Regions from separate parts of the Homo sapiens genome. Here regions 2, 3 and 4 are each linked to region 1. Evidence: promoter capture Hi-C in 16 types of primary human blood cells and fetal thymus (Javierre and others, 2016). All regions are on one chromosome and are shown on one strand. Each heading gives the region's core, a stretch centred on a gene start or on the middle of the fragment in contact. The rest is flanking DNA. Distances are from core to core; before and after follow the strand shown. Region 1 holds the start of MTX1 (metaxin 1). Region 2 holds the start of YY1AP1 (YY1 associated protein 1). Region 3 has its middle 35 kb from the start of YY1AP1. Region 4 holds the start of MSTO1 (misato mitochondrial distribution and morphology regulator 1).

The links. Contacts are between HindIII fragments. The CHiCAGO score rates a contact against its expected background, and 5 or more counts as called.
Region 2: a contact is called between the fragment with the promoter of YY1AP1 here and the fragment with the promoter of MTX1 in region 1, in 1 of 17 cell types (endothelial precursors). The highest score is 7.1, in endothelial precursors.
Region 3: a fragment that was not itself captured here is called in contact with the fragment with the promoter of MTX1 in region 1 in 1 of 17 cell types (endothelial precursors); the score reaches 5.9 in endothelial precursors.
Region 4: a contact is called between a fragment that was not itself captured here and the fragment with the promoter of MTX1 in region 1, in 2 of 17 cell types (endothelial precursors and fetal thymus). The highest score is 10.4, in endothelial precursors.

The regions. Positions count from the first base shown.
Region 1 is chr1:155,207,119-155,210,350 of GRCh38, reverse strand. It overlaps MTX1 (metaxin 1), which reads right to left and starts at 1,656. Exons shown (of 8, transcript NM_002455.5): 1 at 1,019-1,656; 2 at 1-5. The coding sequence starts at 1,546. THBS3 (thrombospondin 3) reads left to right here and starts at 2,454. Exons shown (of 23, transcript NM_007112.5): 1 at 2,454-2,553. The coding sequence starts at 2,475. RefSeq lists a silencer at 1,107-1,306 and an enhancer at 2,670-3,232. The HindIII fragment of the contact is 1,632 bases long and covers 288-1,919 here.
Region 2 is chr1:155,687,289-155,690,520 of GRCh38, reverse strand. It overlaps YY1AP1 (YY1 associated protein 1), which reads left to right and starts at 1,747. Exons shown (of 11, transcript NM_139119.3): 1 at 1,747-1,862; 2 at 2,320-2,450. It overlaps DAP3 (death associated protein 3), which reads right to left and starts at 1,430. Exons shown (of 13, transcript NM_004632.4): 1 at 1,347-1,430. It also overlaps the pseudogene LOC124904430. RefSeq lists enhancers at 1,282-1,331, 1,707-2,341 and a silencer at 1,822-1,871. The HindIII fragment of the contact is 12,603 bases long and covers 1-3,232 here.
Region 3 is chr1:155,652,284-155,655,515 of GRCh38, reverse strand. No RefSeq gene overlaps it. Among named protein-coding and RNA genes, the nearest start is that of YY1AP1, 35 kb to the left of the region's middle. The HindIII fragment of the contact is 1,720 bases long and covers 651-2,370 here.
Region 4 is chr1:155,607,929-155,611,160 of GRCh38, reverse strand. MSTO1 (misato mitochondrial distribution and morphology regulator 1) reads right to left here and starts at 943. Exons shown (of 14, transcript NM_018116.4): 1 at 829-943; 2 at 601-736; 3 at 53-122. The coding sequence starts at 912. It overlaps LOC105371452 (a long non-coding RNA gene), which reads left to right. Exons shown (of 2, transcript XR_922171.2): 2 at 1,269-1,552. RefSeq lists enhancers at 207-1,081, 1,082-1,956. The HindIII fragment of the contact is 2,982 bases long and covers 248-3,229 here.

The DNA of each region.
Region 1 (3,232 bases), core at 407-2,906:
TAGGTCTGCAGGGAAGGAAGCAGAAGTCAGAGAGGCAGAGCCATGTCCCCCACAGTGGTATCAAGAAGAGAAATAACATTTATTGAATACCTTATGTGCCATTCCCTATACTTAGTATCTTAGTCTCGAAAAAAAAGGGGGAGTCACTACCATTTCTATTTTACAAATGGACAACACAGGGCTCAGAGAGATTCCGGACATGTCTGTGATTACAGGACAGCCAGGAAAATCCTTTCCTCTATCTCCTCTCTTGCCATCTACCTGGTGAACATCTATCCTCAGAAGCTTTTCCTAACCAGTATCCCTCTTCTTGGAAGCACTGATAATGCCCTTCTCTTTGGCAGTATCTGTGGTCTGTTCCTACTTTAACTTATATGTGAATATTTTATTATATTTATTTGCTTACCTATCTGCCTTTCTGTAAACTCGAAGGGAGGAACCAAATTTTATTCATCTTTGCCTGGCAATGTTTAATATTTGGAAGAAATCTAATAGATCCTCTTTAAAGCAAGGAGTCAATGAATAAATGAAGCAAAGGAAGTCTGATTGCTAAGCTCTTTATACAAAGCCTGGCTGTGAGTCGTTTGGTCTAACAAACAATAGCCTCAGTAAATGCTGTTAAGTGAGGAGGAAGAGGAGAAGGGGGCTGAGGAGAAGGCAGGAATTCCAAGCTAGAGTAGGTCCCTGAGACAGTCCAGCCTAGTAAACCTCCGAATGGAGAAAAAAAATGCCCAAAGAGAAAGGATCTCCGCAAGGTCACACAGCCAGTGAATGGATGAGCAAGGACTAGAACCCATCACCTGAACTCCCAACCAGGCGTCTTTTCATTGCTGCATTAAGCCTAGAAAACTACAGCATAGGGCACTGAGGCCATATCGGCCACGTACGCTCTTTGACTGCCTCAGTTTCCCCCACTGCGCCCGTGCTGAGTAGCCCTGGCAAGGTTTGGATGCTTGGCTAGTTCGGCCCCCTCCCCAGTCATCAGGGCACAGCAGAGGGCGCCGGCGCCACCCCTCACCAGCACGGCCAGGCTGTCCAGGTCCACTGACGGCAGCCCCCAGCCCCCTGACCAGCAGAACAGCTCCATGGGCGCCGCCATCTTGCCCACCCTCTGTCCCGGAAACACTTCCTTGTGTGCTTCTGCCCTCCCCTGCCTGGGCCCGCCCCCCGCCACCGCCCCTCCGATCGTTGCGGTCAGGGGGCCTGGGGAGATCCCCGGGGAGGCGAGGCTTCTTCTGGCCCGACTGGCAGCTGAACTGCGGGGGACTGGGCCGCGGGCCTCGGGGGAGGGCGGCCGCCGGCCCATCCAGAGGTGGCCCACGTAGCGGGACAGCGCTGTCGGCCCGGCGCGCCTCGGAGAGTCACGGCGCCTCGTCCAAGTGGAGCCCCGAACCCCTGAAGGCGCGGCAGGCTCTGGAGAGCGGGGTCTTGTGCGCCTGGGCCAGGTCTGGGGGCTCTTGCCAAACTGCACGTGGCCTGTACTGCTCCAGGGCCCCTTGGGGCTCGTCCCCGAGCGGGGACTGCGGGGGGGTCCCCCGAGCAGCATGTTTTCCACAGCGCGTTATGTTTGGAGCGGGCCCTGCGCCGCCTGTCGCCATGGAAACAAAACAGGGGCGGTGGCGGCGGCCGGAGCGGAGGCCGGGCTGGGGCTTGGGTGGGGGAGGGGAAGAGAGGCTCGCAGGCTGTCGCTTAGGTGACGGGAACTCAGGCGCCCCTCTGCTTCATCCGGGTCACGGCCCGTCCGCTAGTACCCACAGTGTTCCACAGTCTGGTCCTTGGCTCCTCGCCTGTACCCCTGGTCTTCTGCGCCTGTCCCTGGTGTCCCTTTCCTCTTTTTTGGTTTCTTCACTCTGACCTCACTGACCACTGCTTTAGATTCTCCCTTCAGTTCCCGTCAGACGCTTCCAGACTCCCAAGCTTTCCTACGAATGAGGGAAAATGGAGAAACAGGCACTTGTCAGGGGACCCCCCACCCTAATAAAGAGCACTTGCTCCGCCAGAACAGCAAAATTCATGCCATGTGGGCATCCCTGGGCACTATAGCAAGCTAGTTGCGGCCACTCCCTTGGCATCCTTTCCTGCCAGCTGTGGAATAATGCCCACTGTCTAGCACTGCCCCTGCCAGGGGTTCTTGCCTTCCACAATCGTGGCTTCCAGAAAACAGTGGCATTCGGTAGCGCTGTGTGCCGAGACCCCCAACAATGATGACTGCGGAGAGGGAGGCACCTGGGGGAGGATCATTAGGGAGAGGTAGAAAGCAGGGAGGCCTCCAGGATTCTTTCCCAGTGCCCCTGGTTCCCAGAGCTGATGATGCCTCCAGGGTGATTGGCAGCTCTTTGTTTCAGCCCCCCCTCACCCGCCTGCTGGCCCCCCCTCCAATTCTGTCCCTCCGCCCCCCGGCTCCTGCTCTCTCCGCCTAGCCTTTTCCCCTCCCAGCTGCCTGCCTGCCAGGGGTAGTGAGCCGGCTGAGAGGCATGGAGACGCAGGAACTTCGGGGGGCCCTGGCTCTTCTCCTCCTTTGCTTTTTCACATCTGCCAGTCAGGATCTGCAGGGTAAGCCTGTCTCCATCCTCTTAGACCGCTCTCTGCTTCTTCCCCATTTGCCCTCAGCCCAAGTAGCAGAGAACATGTGGGCAAGGGGAGAGGGGAAGAGTCCAGAAATTGAGCCAGAGGAAAACTTAAGACTGCCTAGAGTTGGTGAAATTATGGCCTGGTGGAGAGGAGTGGGCACCGGAGAGTAGTGGGGGAGCTGGAACAGGACAGGGTCAGGCATGAGGCCAGGGCAGAGGACTCAGGAACTGGATGCTCAGGCTGCCTGGCTGGGGTGGTTCCTGAGCATCTGTAGGCACCCTAGGGTCTGGGAGAGCAGCCTGAAGGTGGGCGTACTGTAGGTCCCTGGGCTTCGTCCCCCTGGGCTCCTGGCTGCCCAAGGACAGGGCGGGGGTGGGGACCAAGAAGCCTGGGCTCTCCCGGAGGTCTGGTGGTGGGATGGGCCGATGGATGTGGGAGAGGTAGCTGGAGCAGATGACACAGGCATAGATTCTTTACTGGCTGGAGGGAAAACCACAGATTGGCCAGGACACAGGAGGCAGAGGAGCTGGGTCCTACATTCCCGTGGGAGATAGCCCAGATGGTGGGAGGGTTAGAGTCCTCAGTGGGCAGCTGTTCTTATCCAGAGCGAGTGTGCTGCGCCCCTAGGATGGGAGGAGGGGAACTAGGGTGTGGAACGAGC
Region 2 (3,232 bases), core at 498-2,997, 480 kb before region 1:
TCACCTAGGCTGCAGTGTGATGGCGTGATCTCGGCTAACTTTGCAACCTCTTCCTCAATCCTCCTGCTTCAGCCTCCCAAGTAGCTCAGACTACAAGCGTGTGCCACACCTGTCTAATTTTTGTGTCTTTTTGTAGAGATGGGGTTTCACCGTGTTGCCTAAGCTGGTCTCGAACTCCTAGGCTCAAGCAATGCGCCCTCCTCCGCCTCCCAAAGTGCTGAGATTACAGGTGTGAGCCACTGCGCCCAGCCTAATGTCTTCTTTCTGTTACAGGATCCAGTAGAAGATTCCACATCTGGAGATCTTTTCCTTTCTTTATATCTATCACCGACATTACCTACTCTTTAAAAATTTTGTAAAAGGCATAAATTTGAAAAATATATCCTCATTAATCTAAATCAAGTCATTGATACAACTATTTAACAAGACGCCCGGCCTGCTTTGTTTTATTAACGACTTGGAGGGACAGAACACTACCCATTACACCCACAAACGTTATCGACATCAACAGAACTGTAAATGACAACACGGCAATACTCTGCACCTTCCCTATGCCTAGGAGCTAATTCCACTTTACATATATTATTATTTCGTGTGTGTGTGTGTGTGTGTGACGGAGTCTCGCTTTGTCGCCAGGCTGGAGTGCAGTGGCGCGATCTCGGCTCACTGCAACTTCCGCCGCCCGGGTTCAAGCAATTCTCCTGCCTCAGCCTCCCGAGTAGCTGGGGCTACAGGCGCCCGCCACCACGGCCGGCTAATATTTGTATTTTTAGTAGAGACGGGGTTTCACCATGTTGGCCAGGATTGTCTCGATCTCTTCACCTTGTCATCCACCTGCCTCGGCCTCCCAAAGTGCTGGGATTACAGGCGTGAGCCACCGCGCCCAGCCCTATCTTATTATTTCACACACCAACCCTGGAGGCATGTTTGGAGTTGCCTAATTTTTATGTACACTTTTTGATAAGGAACTAACAAAAATAACTTGCTGAAGACAAGGGAAACTGAGTCCAGAACTGAATGAGAAGCACATGGTTTCTTCATCCTCCATCACCAGGCTGTCTAACGAGGCTGAAGTACCATCCATGAGTAAGTGCGTCAAGGGCAAACAAACATCATCGCATATGGACAGTGGTGTGAAATTCGAGAAATCCGAGGAGGGTTAACAACAACAAAAAGCACACCACCACGCCGAACTTCCTCGGGTCCCAGGTTGGCAACTCAACGCCCGGGAGGAATCCCCCCCGGAGGCGCGCCGGTCTACCGGCCTCACTCCCTACCTCCTGGAGGTCCGGAGTCCCGCTCCTTTCCCTCAGCGGTACAATACCCGTGTCGGTCCATTCCCTCACCGTGAGTCGAGGACTAGTTCTCCAGACTAGGCGACCGACACACGCTGCCTGGGGCCGGCTCCAAAGCGCCCGTCCTGAGACTGCAAAAAAGGGTCGGGTCATCCGGCAGGAAACGACTCAACGCGCAGCCGCCGCGGCCTCCAACCACCGGCCGGCAGAGGGGCGCTAGGCCGCCCTCGATCCCCTCGCCGCGGTCCCATGGAGGAGGAGGCGAGCCGCAGCGCCGCGGCGACGAACCCAGGGAGGTAGGTTGTCATGGGACTCGGCCGGCCACCCTGGCAATTCCAGTCAAACGGCAAGCCAGACTCGCTTTGCCGGTCCCTTCCTCTCCTGCCCCTGCAGCCGCCAGGAATGGAACAGTCCCGCGGTGGGGACTGTGGGAGGCGCACGCGCGAGGAGTGTAGGGTGGGGGTGCTGGCGGCGGCTGCTTTGGCGGCGGTTGGTGGCCGTGCGGGCGGGGAGGGAGGGGGAGGAGAGAAGAGGAGGTGGAGAAGGCTTGGGCTCGCGCCGCTGAAGGTACGCGTGAGGGCCTGCGCTGGAGCCGGCTTGACAGGGTCTGAGGGGGAGTGGAGAACTGGGCGAGGAGGTTCCCGTGGGTGAGCGCGTACGGGATGGCTGGCTCGCAGGACGGCCGAAGGTGGTGGTTGGTGGGAGCAGCCAGCGACGAGCCCGTAGACACTCGTACGCGTGCGGGCTGACGTGCGCGCTACATGGCCGGAGTCGGGCGAAGCGGGGGACCGTGGGGAAGAACGCGAGGAGGGAGGAGTGGGAGGTTGGGGGTGTCGCTAGGCGCCCTTAGCTCCCTCCCTCTGGAGGAGCTGCCGCGGCCACTCTGCTGCCGCCGCTGCCGCCGCCATTTTGGGTTCGCTTTGCGAGGGGAAACGATCCCAGTGTCGGTTGCGGGATCCGCCTCCTCTCAGTTTGCCCCTTTAGCCCTCCACCTTTCCCTTCTCCTCTCTCGCATTTCCGCCAGTCGGCTTACCCGCTGGCCGCCTCCTGACAAGCGGGAGGGATCCGCGGTGGACCCAGGGAAGCGGAGGAGCCTGGCGGCCACCCCCTCTTCCTCACTTCCCTGTACTCTCATCGCTCTCGGCCTCCGACACGGTGAGTAGAACGATTTGGGCCGGCATTCGGGCCTAAGCACTCTCTCAGCGATTGAATCCTGGGCTTTCTGGGAGCCACTGTCATCTCCCGGACCTGGACCTCTGGGAGAGCAGTGGTGAAGATGGGGGAGGGGAGAGCAGGGAGGGGGATCCTGAGCCTACCGGGAAGTCCCTCCAGGCGGGGTGAAGGGGTGTCCCTGACAGGCAGACTCCCGGAGGGGGCTGGGAAGTAAGCGAGTGGAGGCGGAGTCGGCTGTGCCCCTGACAGGTTAGTTTGTGTTTGTAGGCATGATCGGAGCCTCCCCCATAGTCCAGTTTGTGTGTGTTTAATTAAGGGATAAGAGTGGTCGAGGACACGATCTTGAGAGGGGATTTTACCTGTGTGACAAGGTCTGTGGTGTCCCTGCCGCGTTGAACGGTATGTGGGAACGACAGGATGATCTCAGTGTTGTACGTTTAATAAATGTCACTGGTTAGTTTGTACATGGAAAGAGATGTTTTTGGTCTAGCAGACAGATGGTCTGTTGGTGTGTAGCGGCTGTGTTGGTGTGTGTATGTGAGGATGGCAAGTGTTTCCGTAAGAGTTTGCCTTTATTTGTGTAAGTGTAATGGAGTTCCCCTTATAAGTTAGCTTATTTCTTGAATAAATGTTGGGAGGTTCCTTGCAGGTTGATATGTGTGTGTATTTTAGGGATTGGGAGCCCCTAGTTACTTGTTGGGAAAGAGCGGCAATGGTAGTGTTCTGTACAGCATGTGTCTGTGAGGTCAGGGAGGGGAGAAACT
Region 3 (3,232 bases), core at 261-2,760, 450 kb before region 1:
GCTTTATCAAGTTAAAACAGGCTCTCAGCCAGCCTCCCGCTCTTAGCATCCTAGACCTCACTAAGCCCTTGTATGTAGCAGAAGGGAAAGGCATAGCCATGGGAGTGCCAACTGCCTACTTCTCAAAGAAATTGGACACGGTGGCCAAGCTGCTTGCCGTCGATGGCAGACACTGCTATTTTAGTGGAAGAAGCCGCTAAAATCACCCTGGGTCAGCCACTGGAAGTATTAACCCCACATCAAGTCAATCCTAGAAATAAAAGGACACAACTGTATGATGGGGGAAAGGTTAACCAAATACCAGGCTATGCTCCTGGAAAATCTAGATGTGACCCTTAAAACCTGTAACACTGTGAATCCAGCTTGATTGCTGCCCACAGGCCCAATAATTAATCATTCCTGCGAGCAAGTTATTGCACATACATATGTTAGCCAGCCTGATTTAAAAGGTTGACCTCTCCCAGATTCAGAGGATGACTGGTTCACAGACCTCAGCAGCTTTATATCAAACGGGAACACTGGGCCAGATATACAACAGTAAATTACAATACAATTATTGAGGTCCAACCCCTGCCCCCAGGTATGTCAGCACAAAAAGCTGAGATCATTGCTCTTACTCGAGTTCTGACATTAGGAAAAGGGAAAAAGCTTAACATCTATACAGATTCCAAACATGCATTTCTCGTGTTTCATGCTCATGCTGCAATTTGAAAAGAAAGAGAAAGAGGACTACTAACTAGTAAATCTTCCACCATAAAGCATGGGTCTGAAATTCTTCAACTGTTGGAAGCAATACACTTGCCAAAAGCATAGCCATAATTCATTGTAGGGGGCATCAAAAGAACCTAACCCCTGTAACACAAGGGCACAGAAAGGCTGATAAGCCAAAGCCGCACTGCTCAGGGTGTAATCCCGACAAATTCTAGCACTGCTTCCTTTCTATGATTCCCCAATAGAACCTGAATATCCCTGTGATGTATTCAGGGATATTCGAAGTAAAGGAGGAAGATGGACACAAACAAGGATCCTGGTGGTATATAGTATCAAAAGTGTATCTCCCTCAAACAGCCCAATGGAGAATTATAAAAATCCTGCATGACTCTTTCCATATGTGAGGAGATGCCACTCTTGCCATGATAAACAGGCTCTTCATTGGGCCTGACTTAACTTCCGTGGTTAAGCAGGTCTGTCAAACCTGTTCACTGTGAGCATTCAACAACCCCAGGAACAAAATGCCTCCTCTAATAGAACCAGTCCGGAGAAGGGGCACTTCCCCAGGGGAAGACTGGCAATTGGATTTTACCCATATGCCAGCTTGTAGGGGATACAAGTTTTTGCTAGTACTAATAGACACATTTACTGGCTTACCCTAGCAGAACAAAGAAGGCTAATGAAGTTATAAAAGTTCTCCTAAGATAAATAATCCCCAGTTTGGGTTACCCCAAAGCCTCCAAGGTGAGAGCAGTATGTCTTTCGTCTCCCAAATAACTAAAAGGGTTGCTAAGGCTCTCAGAATCTAATACTATTTACATTCAGCATGGAGACCTCAATCCTCTGGGAAAGTAGAAAGGGCTAATCAACCTCTAAAATCGGCATTAGCTAAGCTATGTCAGGAAACTTCAGAAACTTGGGTCAGCTTGCTGCCCATAGTCCTTTTAAGGATCCATAATTCCCCTAGAGCAAAAATTAATATGAGCCCATTTAAAATGTTATACAGAAGTCTTTTTTTTTTTTTTTGAGACAGAGTCTCACTCTGTTGTCCAGACTGGAGTGCAGTGGCACAGTCTTGGCTTACTGCAACCTCCACCTCCCAGGTTCAAGTAATTCTCCTGCCTCAGCCTCCCAAGTAGCTGGCATTACAGGTGTGAGCCACCACACCCCGCTAATTTTTGTATTTTTAGTATAGATGGGGTTTCACTATGTTGGCCAGGCTGGTCTTGAACTCATGACCTCAAGTGATCCACCCACCTTGGCCTCCCAAAGTGCTGGGATTATAAGAATGAGCCACTGCACCTGGCTGGGAAGGCCATTTTTAATGGATGATCTAATTACTGATCCAGAAATAGCCAGTTTAGTAAAATACGTAATTAACCGGAGACAATTTCAGCAGGCATTTCAAAAGTTTGGAACTCAAAGGTTCTCTGCATTGGGAACTAACCAGCAACCCAAGATCAGGCCAGGAGAGAAAAGTATTTGTTAAAACACAGAAAGAGGGGTCACCTGCTCAACAACTCCAACCCAAATGGAAGGGACTTTTTCAGTGGTGTTGGCCACGCCTTCTGTAGTCAAAGTACCAGGATTAGAAGTTGGATACGTCTTTCTAGGGTCAAGCCTGCAATACCTGAAGCCCCAGACCTGTAACTTGAAGCTTCCGTCAGCCACTATACCTGTGAACCTGTGGAAGACCTGAAGTACCTGTTTTAAAGACAGTCAAAAGATAAGTGAATGCCTACCAACTCTCCTTGGTGTCTATGCTGCATAGTTACTGTAGGTTTGATAATAGTAGCAGTTTTTATATTTTTATAATTTATTGCCTTCTTCCAAATGGATGGAATCATTTCCTTTGTAATAATTAAGCAAAATGTTTTACTTCATTTTTGTAACATTATTCCTGAGAGGATAGGTATACACCCCCTGAAGTTCCCATTCAAAAGAACAAAATAACAGATAAGTATTTTTAGTCCCATAATGGTTAGCCCTGGCCTGTGTATACTGGGACCAGGCATACTGGGAATCAGCTTAATTTTACAGCAGGGTTTTATTTTACTTCTCTGGCAATTAATGGATTCTGGGTATTTATTAAGACTTTAAAATTTAACCCAAAGACTGTTAAATACCACCAGTCCAGCTCTGGCAAAGGACTGTTGGCTTTGTTCATCTCCAACATCACCAAAACACACTGCCATCGCAACCCAGGCTTATCTTGGGCCCTTGAAAAAATGTCCTACCACCTCAACTACAAGGGAGGGACTCCCTTCAAATTAATGGATCTGCATGACTTCTATGACTTCAAAATTACATAAACAACAAAAGTTACAATGTCAGGATGAGCAGTAAACCTTCTCCAGTCCTACCAAAGTAACATTTCTGGGGTTGCATCTCCTCAAAAACCTATTTGGGGCCCAAGAACGCACAAAGAACTAAAATCCCAGGTGCCACTTTGTATTAAAAAATTCTAGTCAAACCCTGGGAACCTTGAGTCATCAGAGTAACTACACCCTAGGGATTAACC
Region 4 (3,232 bases), core at 489-2,988, 400 kb before region 1:
CGTTCTGCGTACATACACGATCCCCACCCTTATCCATACATCAGTTACACACCATGCTATTGCAGCATCCAACTGTTTGTCCCTGTAGAGTCCACCTTCCTCTTTTAGGGAGCTCAAACTACCTGTACAGAAATAACAGAGACAATGTTAGGTCAAAGCCTGGGCACCCTTCCCCTCTAGCTAACCTTCCTCTGATCACCTGACAACCTGCTGTCACCATCTCTCCAGCACTTGGCTCTTCCAAGCTTTCTGGGATATACACTAGTTGGGGGAAAAACCTTGGCTTAGGAGAATCTAGATTCCATCTTTCGGTTCCCAGCTTAGTCATTAGCTGTGGGACGCGGGGGGAACCACATCCAGGGGTCTGACAGGAGTGCTGCAGTTCAAGTCCTCACTGTCTCCAGGGCCTAGCAGCCTATTCCCGAAATGGCTCTTGAGCAACTGTCGTGGGCCCCTCGAGTGTTGGCATGTTGTGCTCAGCTCCTCATCTCCGGTCCTGGAGCTCGGTAAGGTGGGAGGGTCTTGAAGATAACGGCAGCGCAAGGACTAGGCACGCGGAAGGGAAATAAGGGGCATCGGCTAACTCTGCCACCACCTCACCCTTCAGATCCATGAGGATGAGTCGCGGCGTGTAGGTCTCCTGGCCGTGCAGCGTCCGGCCCGTACGATACAGGACGTCGGGGCACAGCTCTCCCGGGGGCTCCTTGGAATCGGTCGCTCGGCCCAGCGCAGCATCCTGGGGAAGCAGAGAGGACGAGGCAGGCCGGCTGAACGTCGGGACTGTAGATCCCGAAGGGCTCCTCGGGGGCAGCTGCCGGCTGACCTCACCTGCTGGTTCCACCAGTGCGCGCCCACGAAACCGGCAAAATGTCCCAACTGCAGTGTGAGCACCTCCCGGGCCCCGCCCGCCATACTGCGCTGCTCCACGGGGCCGCCGCGCCTCAGCCGCGCCGCTCGCTGCTCCTAGCCGATTGGCTTGGCAGGCGCGTGGGCGGGTGTTATTCTCGGCTACTTATTGGCCCGCAAACACATCCTTTCCCATTGGAGAAACGATGCGCCGATCCCTTCCTACCTCTTCCTAGACGTGGCCCAGTCCGGCTTCTCTGTGGTTGCCTGTGAGGGGCGGGGCTCCACGGGCCACGCCGTTGCTCCTGCTCCACGTTGGAGCGGGGTGGGCGCCGTCTCCGCCGCTGACTTGGGGCCGCCAGGGCGCGGGCCGTGGAAGGCTCTGCTTCCTACTTGTCTTGAGGTCTTATCCCTTCTCACAGATCTCTCCGCTGGCTGATAGCTCCCCGGGCAAAAAGAAAACCTTGCCAGAAAAGCGGAAGCTCCCCTAAAGCCTCCCATGCCCCTTCATCTCTTCAGAAGTCACGTGGACCACGACTAATAACCTGTGGACTGGCTTAGCTATCATATCTCTATCATTTACACGTATTTATCTATCTCTGTGTATCTAACACCTTATGTAAAGAGAGTATGTATCTGTTGGCGTCTTTTGCTCAATATGGTTTATGTAATTCATATTTTTGCAAATATCTATAATTCATTTTCATCACTGCGGAATAGTCCATTGTATGAATACGCCACCACTGATCTATTCTAAAGAAAGAATAGGCTGGGCGCGGTGGTTCACGCCTGTAATCCCAGCACTTTGGGAGGCTGAGGCGGGCAGATCACGAGGTCAAGAGATCGAGACCATCCTGGCTAACACGGTGAAACCCCATCTCTACTAAAAATACAAAAAAAAATTAGCTGGGCGTGGTGGCGGGCGCCTGTAGTCCCAGCTACTCGGGAGGCTGAGGCAGGCGAATGGCGTGAACCCGGGAGGCGGAGCTTGCAGTGAGCCGAGATCACGCCAATGCACTCCATCCTGGGCGACAGAGCGAGACTCTGTCTCAAAAAAAAAAAAAAAAAAAATATATATATATATATATATATATATACTGCTGATAATAGCTTTTGGGATTGTTTCCAATTTTTGGGCTATTAGGTGCTATGATTAACATTCTTGTGTGTATTTAGAAACAAGGCAAGGGCCGGGTGCGGTAGTTTACGCCTGTAATCCCAACACTTTGGGAGGCCGAGGCAGGAGGATCAACTGAGGTCAGGAGGTTGAGACCAGCCTGGCTAACATGATGAAACCCCGGTCTCTACTAAAAATACAAAACATGTAGCCGGGCGTGGTGGCGGGCCCTTGTACTCCCAGCTGCTCAGGAGGCTGAGTCAGGGAATCATTTGAACCTGGGAGGTGGAAGTTGCAGTGAGCCGATATCACGCCACTGCACTCCAGCCTGGGAAACAAGAGCAAAACTCCTCTCTAAAAAATAAAAAATAAAAAAATAAAAATAAAAATAAAAAAGGCCGGGCGCCGCGGTTCAAGCCTGTAATCCCAGCACTTTGGGAGGCCGAGGCGGGTGGATCACGAGGTCAGGAGATCGAGACCATCCTGGCTAACACGGTGAAACCCCGTCTCTACTAAAAATACTAACAATTAGCCGGGCGTGGTGACGGGCGCGACCTGTAGTCCCAGCTACTTGGGAGGCGGAGGCAGGACAATGGCGTGAACCCGGGAGGCGGAGCTTGCGGTGAGCCGAGATCGCGCCACTGCACTCCACCTTGGGCAACAGAGCCAGACTCCATCTCAAAAAAAAAAAAAAAAAAAAAGAGATAAGGCAAATATTGGTTGGGCGCAGAGGCTCACGCCTGTATTCCCACGTTTTGGTGAGGCTGAGGCAGGAAGATCGCTTGAGTCCAGAAATTCGAGAATGTGAGGGTAGACTGGACAATGTAGTGAGACTCCCCCTCCCCCTATCCTCTCTATAAAAGAATTTTTCAAAAAATTAGCTAGGCAGCCCACATCTGTAGTCCTAACCAGAGGCTAGGGTGAGAGGATCGCTTCAGCGCAGGAATTAGAGGCTGCGGTGAACCATGATTGGAGCACTGCACTGCAGCCAGAGACAGAGGGAGACCCTGTCTCAAAATTTTAAAAAGTGACAAAATGTTAATTGAATCTAGGTGAAGATTATAGGTGTTCTTTTGCAGTACTCTCTGAGCATTCTTGTAGGTTTGAAATTTTTTCAAGAAATAAAGGTTAGATGCTCTTATCTCTTCTGAGCTCTTTGTATTTTCACATGTATTATATTTAGTTTTGTTTATTTATTTTGAGACTGTCTCACTCTCTTTGCCCTGGCTGGAGTGCAGTGGTGCAATCTCCCGGCTCACTGAAGCTTCA